Regions from separate parts of the Homo sapiens genome. Here region 1 is linked to region 2. Evidence: promoter capture Hi-C in human tissues and cell types (Jung and others, 2019). All regions are on one chromosome and are shown on one strand. The core of a region is centred on a gene start or on the middle of the fragment in contact, and the rest is flanking DNA. Distances in the headings are between cores, read along the strand shown. Region 1 overlaps LOC124903876 (a long non-coding RNA gene). Region 2 holds the start of ASAP3 (ArfGAP with SH3 domain, ankyrin repeat and PH domain 3).

Evidence for each region. Contacts are between HindIII fragments. The study calls those that stand out against the background at their distance.
Region 1: a fragment that was not itself captured here is called in contact with the fragment with the promoter of ASAP3 in region 2 in 4 of the 25 tissues and cell types used here (IMR-90 fibroblasts, aorta, lymphoblastoid cells and 1 more).

What each region holds. Positions count from the first base shown.
Region 1 is chr1:23,550,011-23,554,879 of GRCh38, reverse strand. LOC124903876 (a long non-coding RNA gene) reads right to left here. Exons shown (of 3, transcript XR_007065537.1): 2 at 2,785-2,896. LOC105376859 (a long non-coding RNA gene) reads left to right here. Exons shown (of 5, transcript NR_188656.1): 1 at 1-408; 2 at 2,807-2,960; 3 at 3,167-3,259; 4 at 3,424-4,115. Among named protein-coding and RNA genes, the nearest start is that of ID3, 7.1 kb to the left of the region's middle. RefSeq lists a silencer at 1-259. The HindIII fragment of the contact is 7,566 bases long and covers 1-4,869 here.
Region 2 is chr1:23,482,448-23,487,245 of GRCh38, reverse strand. It overlaps ASAP3 (ArfGAP with SH3 domain, ankyrin repeat and PH domain 3), which reads left to right and starts at 3,067. Exons shown (of 25, transcript NM_017707.4): 1 at 3,067-3,241. The coding sequence starts at 3,113. RefSeq lists an enhancer at 2,203-2,302 and silencers at 2,493-2,542, 2,553-2,662, 2,783-3,232. The HindIII fragment of the contact is 29,915 bases long and covers 1-4,798 here.

The DNA.
Region 1 (4,869 bases), core at 1,666-4,165, 68 kb before region 2:
TCCGCAGCCTGCGGGCGGGGCTCGCAGCCCATCCGGAGCCTCGCGGCGCCCCCGCCGCTCCGCCAGCAGCGCGGCCTCCCGGTTCCCAGCCTCGCGGCCTGGGGGGCCCCCCACCCAGCGGAGTCGCTGACCCCACTCCTCTCCCGCTGCCCCCAGCTGCGCTCGGGCCGCTGCAGCCTCTGCGCACCCCCACCCGCTTCCTGCCCCGTCCGCGAGGCCGCCCTGGATCGCACCCGGTTCCTTCCTTCCTTCGTTCTTTCAGGCAACTCGCATTCCTCGAGCGCCTGCGACGTGCCCTGCACAGGGCCTTCCCGGCCTTCCGAGTGTGGCCCCAGGCCCGCTGGGCTCCTCCGGGAAGCCTCTGCCCTCTCGAAGTCCTTCCCCACCTCCGCCCCTCTGTTCCATGAGGTGCTTCGCTGAGAGTCGAGCAATTTAATTGTTCTCTGATTAGTTCTCCTCTTAGGGGTCAGTCAGTGGCAAGGTCACGGAGTCTCTTTGTGGCTGAGATCGGGGGTCAGAGCGTGGCCGGATTTGGGGTTTCGCCAGCCTGGGGCAGGCTTTAGGGATAAATGTGGGTAGTCAGGCTGTGGGGGTCCGTCTGTGGGCAGTGTCAAAAGCCAAGGTTAGTGAGTCCGTGTTTGGGTAGGGTCGGTGGGCAGTCGGGATCAGGGTAGTGAGACACCTTGAGACCGGGACTTTGGGGGTTGCCTTTGACAAACCAGATTAAGGAGGGAGGAGTTCTCTGAAGTCCCCTGAACTCATATTCACCTCTCGCCGTCGTTGGGGGCTGACCATAGGCGCCCCCCCGCCTCCGCCTTCTGAGCTGTGGAGCTGTGCTTCCATCGGGGGACGCCTCTCCTCACTGCTACCCTGCTTCTACTTTGTGCCCGATGCTGCAGGCAGAAGCTCTCACCCGGCCAGACTTGTCAAAGGGAGCCTGGGCTTAGAGTGAGGGTGGCCAGGGTAGGGAGGCCTTAGGCTTCCTGGGGACCCCTACCCTGAAGCCACCCAGGAAAGCAGATGTTCTTCCTTGCTGTTTAAGTCATTTGTTGTAATTCTGAAGCTTGTCAGGGATGGAAGGGCGGGCCCTTAGAGGTCACAAATGTAGCCCAGAGAGGGGCAGGAACCTGCTCAGGGACACACAGCAAGTTAGTGTTCACGTTGGGATTGGAACACCAGCCTCCCACTTTACTATCCAGGGCTCTTTTCGTGATGCTCTCCCTACCCTGAGTAAGGGTTGTTTTTCCCACTATAGAGATGGGGCAGCGGAAGCCTGGAGAGGCCGAGAGACTGCCTCTTAGCTTGAGGATCTGCAAAAATGAAGTCAGGGAAGGGTGACTTCCCAAAGCATTGTCTCTTGGCATTGCCCACCTAGCCCCCTCCCTGCCACCCTCGTTAGGAGCAAATAGAACAAGGGTGGCCAAGCATCGAGATGAGGCAGGGAGGGAGAGAACACTGTAAGAACTGCTGGGGAAAAGCTTAGCTGGGCTCTTATGGAAACATATGGAACTCATTACCCGGAGTTGAGGTGGTCGCTGGCCAGCTGGCAGTTGGTCCCTTTGGGGCTAAAAATGTGCCTTGTGTGGCAATGAGGGTACCCAAGGCACGGCAGACTCCCCAGAATAACCTCCCCACTCACCGATCCAAGTTATTTCTGAATACTGGTTTGTTTCCTATGCCTGTGCCATTTCTTTTTTTCGTCTTTTTTTTTTTTTTTAACCGAGTCTCGTACTGTCGCCCAGGCTGTAGTGCAGTGGCGCGATCTCAGCTCACTGCAACCTCCGCCTCCCTGGTTCACGCCATTCTCCTGCCTCAGCCTCCCGAGTAGCTGAGACCACAGGCACCCACCACCACGCCTGGCTATTTTTTTTGTATTTTTAGTAGAGACGGGGTTTTGCCATGTTAGCCAGGATGGTCTCGATCTCCTGACCTCGTGATCCGCCCTCCTCGGCCTCCCAAAGAGCTGGGATTACAGGCGTGAGCCACCGCGCCCGGCCTCCTATACCTATGCCATTTCTAGCATCAAAAAAAGGGTTTCAAGGCCGGGCCGGTGGCTCACACCTGTAATTCCAGCACTTTGGGAGGCCAAGGGGGGCACATCACCTGAGGGGAGGAGTTCAAGACGAGCCTGGCCAACATGATAAACCTCGTCTCTACTAAAAATACAAACATTAGCTGGACATGGTGCCACGTGCCTGTAATCCCAGCTACTGGGAAGGGAAGGTTGAGGCAGGAGAATCACTTGAACCCAGGAGGCAGAGGTTACAGTGAGCTGAGCATCTGGGCAACAGAGTGAGATTCCATCTCCAAAAAAAAAAGGGGGTTTCAAGACATGCCACTGTAGGTTATGCAGGGAAGAGATGAGAGATTCAGGACCATCAGGACAGACAACCATATTGCTCCATTCCCCACCCCACATACACCCTGACTCTCTTCATCAGGGCCAGGGGCCACCTGGTCTTACAGTGGTTCCATATCCATTGTTCATGATCCCAGCTTCCACTGAGGGTTCATCCAGGTGGGCCCCAAGGGGCCTAGATGTTAATCCCTGTCAATCACATTTTCCACTGCAGGTTCAACTCCATATACAAAGAGAACAGCAAGAAAGTGTTTCAAAAGAGGCCATTCACTAGTGGGCGGCATTTTACAGTCTATGTGGTAACGTGGACTGGTTGGGGGGTGCTTCCATTTCACCCCCCTCAGGGCTCATAGGTGTTAGGGGACCTGCTAAAGGTCACCCTGGAGTAACTGTCAGAGCCACAGTCTACAGGATGGCCTCCTTACCCAGTGCTTTGGATGTCTGCAGCTGTTTTGAAACTTCATGCAAACCGGTGGGTGCTGCAGAATTGGCCTCTTCCAGCCACAGCAGTAATCCTGTTACGTTCTCTCTGTGAGTCTGGGAAACATACAGACACTGGTTGAAACTTCAGCTTTGTCATTTACCAGCTGTGCTATCACAGGTAAGTTTTTTGTTTTCTTTTTGTTTTTTTGAGACAGGGTCTCAATCTGTTACCCATGCAGGACTGCAGTGACATGATCGCTGCTCTTACTGCAGCCCTGACCTCCCGGGCTCGAGTGATCCTTCCACCTCAGCCTTCTAAGTAATTGGGACTACAGGTGTGCGCCAGCATGCCTGGCTAATTTTTTTTTTTTGTATGTTGCTTAGGCTGGTCTGAAACTCCTGGGCTCAAGCAGTTCTCCCACATTGGCTTCCCAAAGTGCTGGGATTACAGGTCTGAACCACCGAACCGGGCCACAGGTAAGTTATTTGTCGTCTCTGAGCCTCACATGGTTGAATTGATGATTAAATTAGATGACATATGTAAAGCATCTGGTACTTGGTAGGCTCCAGATGACCCCCACCACAGAGTTTGCTGGGCTTGGTGTCAGATTCCTAGCCTTATTCCTTCTTCTTCTTTCCAGAGTGGCAATGTGGTTGGCATGACCCAGTCACAGCACCCCGGGACTCTTGTCCAGCATTGGCGCTCTATATGCAGAGCCCTTTCACTCAGCCTGGCAGCATCTGATCAGCGTCGAAGCCCAGTGGCTTGAGGAATAAATATAAACAGTGCAGAGACTAAAAGCAGAGCTCTGGTCCAGCACATCTACTCCCAAGCTCTGCCACCCTGGACAAGCTCCTTCCCCTCTCTGAGCCTCAGTCTCCTCCCTGTAATACTGTAAGAACCCTGTCCACAGTTGTGTGCCGATATACTGAATGTAAAGCACCTAAAAGCCTGCCAGGACGTGGCAGGCACTCAAGAAGCATTACTAGATTCATTTCACACATGGAGAAACTGAGTCCCAGAGTGGGAAAGTGACTCAGGCAAAGATTCCCTCACAGAACTGGGGATAAAAATCCAGATCTTCAAGCTCCCAGTCAGTGCCTAATTACTACTTTCTCATTCTTGGAATTTGTAATTATTTCATGACAAGTGTGCTTTTGGCTGCTGGAGGGACAGAGCTTCAGAGGTTGTGAGCCTCCCCTGGCTCAGCCTGACCCAGAACCAGCTCACTCATGAAACTACCCTCTCTTGAAGAGAATAGGAGTTGTGGGGAGGAAGAACATAACCCAGAGGCCAGAGAACGTGGAGGCCAGGGTTGGTGTAACTGTGTAGGTAAGAGCAGCAGCTTCGTGATCAGCCAGACCTGCATTTAAATCCTTCTCTGCCACTTCTTAGCTGTGTGACCAGCTACATGACACCACCTCCCTGAGCCTCAGGTTTTCATCTGTAAACTTTCAATGCTACCTCTCCCATAGGGTTGTTGTAGGAATTAAATAAGACAACAGAGGTAGAGTACCTGCTCCCAACTGGCAGCCCTTATAATTTCATGAAGAGGAAGCAAAAGGGGAGCCAGCTACCTTTTTTTTTTTTTTTTTGAGACAGAGCCTCTTTCTGTCACTCAGGCTGGAGGGTGGTAGTGTGATCTCGGCTTGCTGCAACCTCTGCCTCCTGGGTTCCAGCGATTCTTGTGCTTCAGCCTCCTGAATAGCTGGGATTACAGGTGGACACCACCATGCCAGGCTAATTTTTGTATTTTTAGTAGAGACGGGGTTTCACCATGTTGGCCAGGCTGGTCTTGAACTCCTGACCTCAAGTGATCCACCTGCCTCGGCCTCCCAAAGTGCTGGGATTATGGGTGTGAGCCACCGTGCCTGGCCGGAGCCAGCTACTTCTTATCCTCATTCTTGTGTATAAATCTTGTTGTAAACTTTTAAACAATTTTTTGTTTTATTTTTATTGTTTATATTTGAGACAGGGTCTCTCTCTGTCATCCAGGCTAGAATGCAGTGGCATGATCACAACTCACTGTGACCTCGGCCTTCCAGGCTCAAGTGATCCTCCCACCTCAGCCTCCCAAGTAGCTGGG
Region 2 (4,798 bases), core at 1,818-4,317:
AAGCCCAGGAGGTTGAGACTTCAGGGAGCTGTGATCACTCCACTGCTTGGAGTGACAGAATGAGACCCTGCCTCAAAAAAAAAAAAAAAAAAAAAAAAAAAGAGGGGGCCGGGCGCCGTGGCTCATGCCTGTAATCCCAGAACTTTCGGAGGCCGACGCGGGTGGATCTCCTAAGGTCAGGAGTTCGAGGACCAACATTGAGAAACCCCATCTCTACTAAACATACAAAATTAGCCGGGCATAGTGGCGCATGCCTGTAATCCCAGCTACTCTGGAGGCTGAGGCAGGAGAATCGCTGGAACCCGGGAGGCGGAGGTTGTGGTGAGCTGAGATCGCACCATTGCACTTCAGCCTGGGCAACAAGAGTGAAACTCCGTCTCAAAAAAAACAAAAAAAAAACAAAAAGAAGAGGGGTGGGGAGGCTGGGAGAAATTTGATCACAGGGAAGAAGGCAAGTAAGATGCTTGAAGATGCTGCTGCCCTTGAAGGTGGAAGGTGCCATAAGCCAAAGAATGCAAAAACTACAGCTCTCGAAGCTGCAAAAGCAAGAAAACAGATGCTCCCTTATAGCATCCAGAGGAAGTACAGCCCCACTGATACCTTGATTTTAGCCCAGTGAAAGTTATTGCAGACTTGTGACCTCCAGACATGTAAAAGAATAAATGTGGCCAGGCGCAGTGGCTCATGCCTGTAATCCCAGCACTCTGGGAGGCCGAGGTGGGCGGATCACCTGAGGTCAGAAGTTCAAGACCAGCCTGGCCAACACGGCGAAACCCCGTCTCTACTAAAAAATACAAAAATTAGCTGGGTGTGGTGGCACGTGCCTGTAATCCCAGCTACTCGGGAGGCTGAGGGAAGTTATTGGTGATTTGTTATAGTAGCAACAGGAAACTAGTACAGAAGACATCAACATTACCGTTGGGATTGGATGAAGAAATCCAGGAAGGCTGATAGAGTGAGACATGCAGAGGATTTAGCAGAGAGCTCCCAACAACTCCAGCATTTAAGATCCCTGCGGAGGAAGTGCATCTCAGAAAGGGCTCTTGGAACAGCCAGAGGGAGAGGGCCACCAAAGAAAATAGTTCTCCTAGGATTCAGGGGCAAGGGTGTTTCAAGGAGAAGGGAGTGGTTAACATTGTCAGATGCTCCTAAAAGTCAAGCAAGAAAAGTGCCTAAGCTCAGGAGTTTGAGGCTGCCTTGAGCTATGATCATTGCACTGCACTTCAGCCTGGGCGACAGAGTGAGACCTTGTCTCTAAAAATAAATAACAAGAAAAGTGCCTATTTGGTTTCAACAGGAGAAGTTGACCTTGAAAGAACTCTTGGAATAGTTGTCGTCTCTATCAGATGGTACACATTTTTTTCAACTTTTAATTCTTTTTTCTTTCTTTTCTTTTTCTTTTTCTTTTTTTTTTTTTTTGAGACAGGGTCTCACTTTGTCACCCAGGCTGGAGTGCAATGGCAGGATCTCAGCTCACTGCAAACTTGACCTCCCAGGTTTAAGCCATTTTCCTGCCTCAGCCCACCAAGTAGCTGGGACTACAGGCAAGAGCCACCACGCCGGGCTAATTTTTGTATATTTTGTAGAGACAAGGTTTCGCCATGTTGCTCAGGTTGGCCTTGAACTCCTGAACAATCCGCTCACCTCGGCTTCCCAAAGTGCTAAGATTACAGGCATGAGCCATCGCTCCCGTCAACTTTTAATTCTATTACACAGTAGTATATGGTCATTGTATAAAAGTTAGGATATACAGATTCACCAAAAGAAAAGAAAGTTACTCATAATGTCTTCAGCTAGTGCATATCTGTCTTCAGCTAGTGCATAAAATGTTGCTGGTGCAACATTTTAGTGCATATCTTTCCGGATTTTTTCTTTTCTTTTCTTTTCTGTGCGAGAAAAGAAAAGATTCTCTCAATCGCCGCCCTGTGGGGTAAAATACCATGAGGCCATTTTAAGAGGGGGAAATGCAGGCTTAGAGAAGCAAGCAATTTATCCAAAGTAACCAAGATTGGAATCTAGGTTCCTCTGACTCCAAAACCAATGTTCCTTGCTGCGGTGCTTTCCTAGCTTTTTACTTGGAGAACTTTTCCCCAGAGGACCTCAGGCTTCAGAACTAAACCTAAGTGGATTTCTATCCTGAACCCCATCCCTCATCCGCCCCAAAGGATGGTGAGCCAGATTAAGGGGTGAAAGGCAGGAGCAGGAAGAGTAAAGGCGTGGGTGCGATCTATGGTCGGGTAAGAGGGAACTAGTACACGCACGTGTTCGGTTCTTCGCAACATCACAATCAAGCGGGCATCAGGCTTCCCATTGTACAGATAAGGAAACTGAGGTTCCAGAAGAGAAGTAATTTTCCCCAAGTCACACAGCTAGCCAGGGGCCCCGATCCACACATCCCCGGGGCGGCGGGGGTTATCAGGAGGGAGTCTCCGGATGCCTGCAAAGCTGAGGCTGAGAGCTGGGCGTACGCAGCAAAGGAGGGGTGGGGCGATTCGGGGCGGAGCGAGGCAAGGAGATTGGGCGGGACTGGGGAGAGAGGAGGGAAGGGTGGCGGGGGGGTGGTAGGGCAGAAGGGGCGAGGTCATGGGGAACTCGGAACGAATCAGCAGAGGAGGGAGGAAGAGGGAGGGGGCTCTAAGACTCGACGCGGAGATGGAACAGCCTGGGCCGTGCAAGGGAGGAGGATTTGGAAGACCCAGAGCGGGATGAAACGGGACAGAGCCCTGAAGGGGCAGGGATGGGGGAAGGCGGAGGAGTTTCTACTGAGGCCAGGGGTGGGGCATCGCGCCAGGGGGCGGGGTCTGAGGCGGTGAGGGGCTGGGGGCGTGGCCTAGGGGGCCGGCGAGGGGCCGGGGAAGCGGCCTGACGCGGTGCGGGGCCGGGACCGGGGCCGGAGCCTGGACCTTGGCGGTGGAGGAAGGCGAGGAGCCGGGGGCGGGGCCGTCCCAGCTGAGGAGCGGAGAGCGGCTGGAGGGTCGGGGGCGGGGCGTGCGGAGGGGCGGGGCGTGTGGAGGCCGGGACGGCGCCCCCGGCCGGCGGTGAGGCCGGCTCAGCGCGGAGCAGCTCAGTGCCCCCCGCGCCCCGCTCCGGCAGCTCCACGCTCGCGCCCGCCATGCCGGAGCAGTTCAGCGTCGCCGAGTTCCTGGCCGTCACCGCGGAGGACCTCAGCTCCCCGGCTGGGGCCGCCGCCTTCGCCGCCAAGATGCCCCGGTACCGAGGGGCGGCGCTGGCGCGGGAGGAGGTGAGGGGGCCGAGGCGGGAGGGGTCGGGGGTCGGCGCCGGGCCTGGCCTTGACCTCCACAGGCGTGTCGCACCCGAGCTGCGATGGCCCTTCACCGCGCCCCGAAACCTGCCCCCTCCCTAGGTCTGGGAGGACCGAGCGCATCTCCAACAGCTGCGTCCTCACCGTCGAGGCGGGGGAAGGCCCGAGGGACCGTTTTGGGGGGCCTCGAGGTCTCTTCGATGACAAACTCCACAGGTCGGGGGACGTACCCCAAGTGCCCCGCGTGACCGCCTCATCACATATGTGTTTGCCTAGCGCCTTCCAGCCTCAGTTTGCGTTTTCATCTTCGGAGCCCCACAAGTGTGCCCCCCGAGTCACTCCCCTTCTGAGAGGCAGGCTTCCCGCCTCAGTCCTGAACTTTCTTCCCCCCGGCTGCAGAGAGGCCCCCTCCCGCTTGCGGCTGGTTCGGAGATTTGGCCCGCGTTTGTGGAATGAATGCGGATGGGAAGGCGCCAGGAGCCGGGGTTCACCTTGGCCGGGCTGTTGGCAAGTTTATCGTCTCCTCTCCCCTCCCCTCTCCTCTTTGTCTTTCCCAGCAAAGCGTCCCAGGCCTTTTCTTTCGGTCTTGCAGGCTGCCCCACCCCATTCCCATGCTCTTCGGAGTTCCTTCCATTCCTCTTCTCTGAACCTGCTGCAGCTTTCCGCAGCTCCTCTGCAAAGAATATTCTAGGACAGACACCCCGTGGCCTTGGTCCAACGGAGAATAATGTGTTTTTGCAGCTCCCCATCCAAAGGATGCCCTCAATTTGGGTGGCATTTTGGACCTCAGCAACGGCTCTAGCCTTCCACCCTTCACCTTAAGTGTACTAGGCACCCACTGCGTGGCAGATACAAAGCTCAGTAGTTCATAACACCCTGCGCCAGTGTCAGGAAATCTGTCCTCTTCTCTCTTGTCAGGGTGACCCTCCATCTCGGAGTCTGTTTGTATCACTTTGTAAGGGTGATAGAGGATTGTGGAAGGAGCATCGACTTTGGGGAAGGCAGACCTTTTTTCTTTCCTTTTTTTTTTTTGAGACGGAGTCTCGCTGTGTCGCCCAGGCTGGAGTGCAGTGACGCGATCTTGGCTCAATGCAAACTCCGCCTCCCAGGTTCACACCATTCTCCTGCCTCAGCCTCCCGAGTAGCTGGGACTACAGGCTCCCGCCACTACGCCTGGCTAATTTTTTTTTTGTATTTTTAGTAGAGACGGGGTTTCACCGTGTTAGCCAGGATGGTCTCGATCTCCTGACCTCATGATCCGCCCGTCTCGGCCTCCCAAAGTGCTGGGATTACAGGCGTGAGCCACCGCGCCGGCCAAGGCAGACCTTTTTTCAAACGCTGGCTCTGCAGTTTGCCATTTGGGTGAACGTGGGCATGTGACCTGTCCTGTCATCTGTGGAATGGGGGTAATAATGTGTACCTCACATGAGACAATGCATATAAAGCATGCATCTTTTTTTTGGAGACAGAGTCTTGCTCTGTCTCCCAGGCTGGAGTACAGTGGTGCGATCTCAGCTGACTGCAATCTCTGCCTCC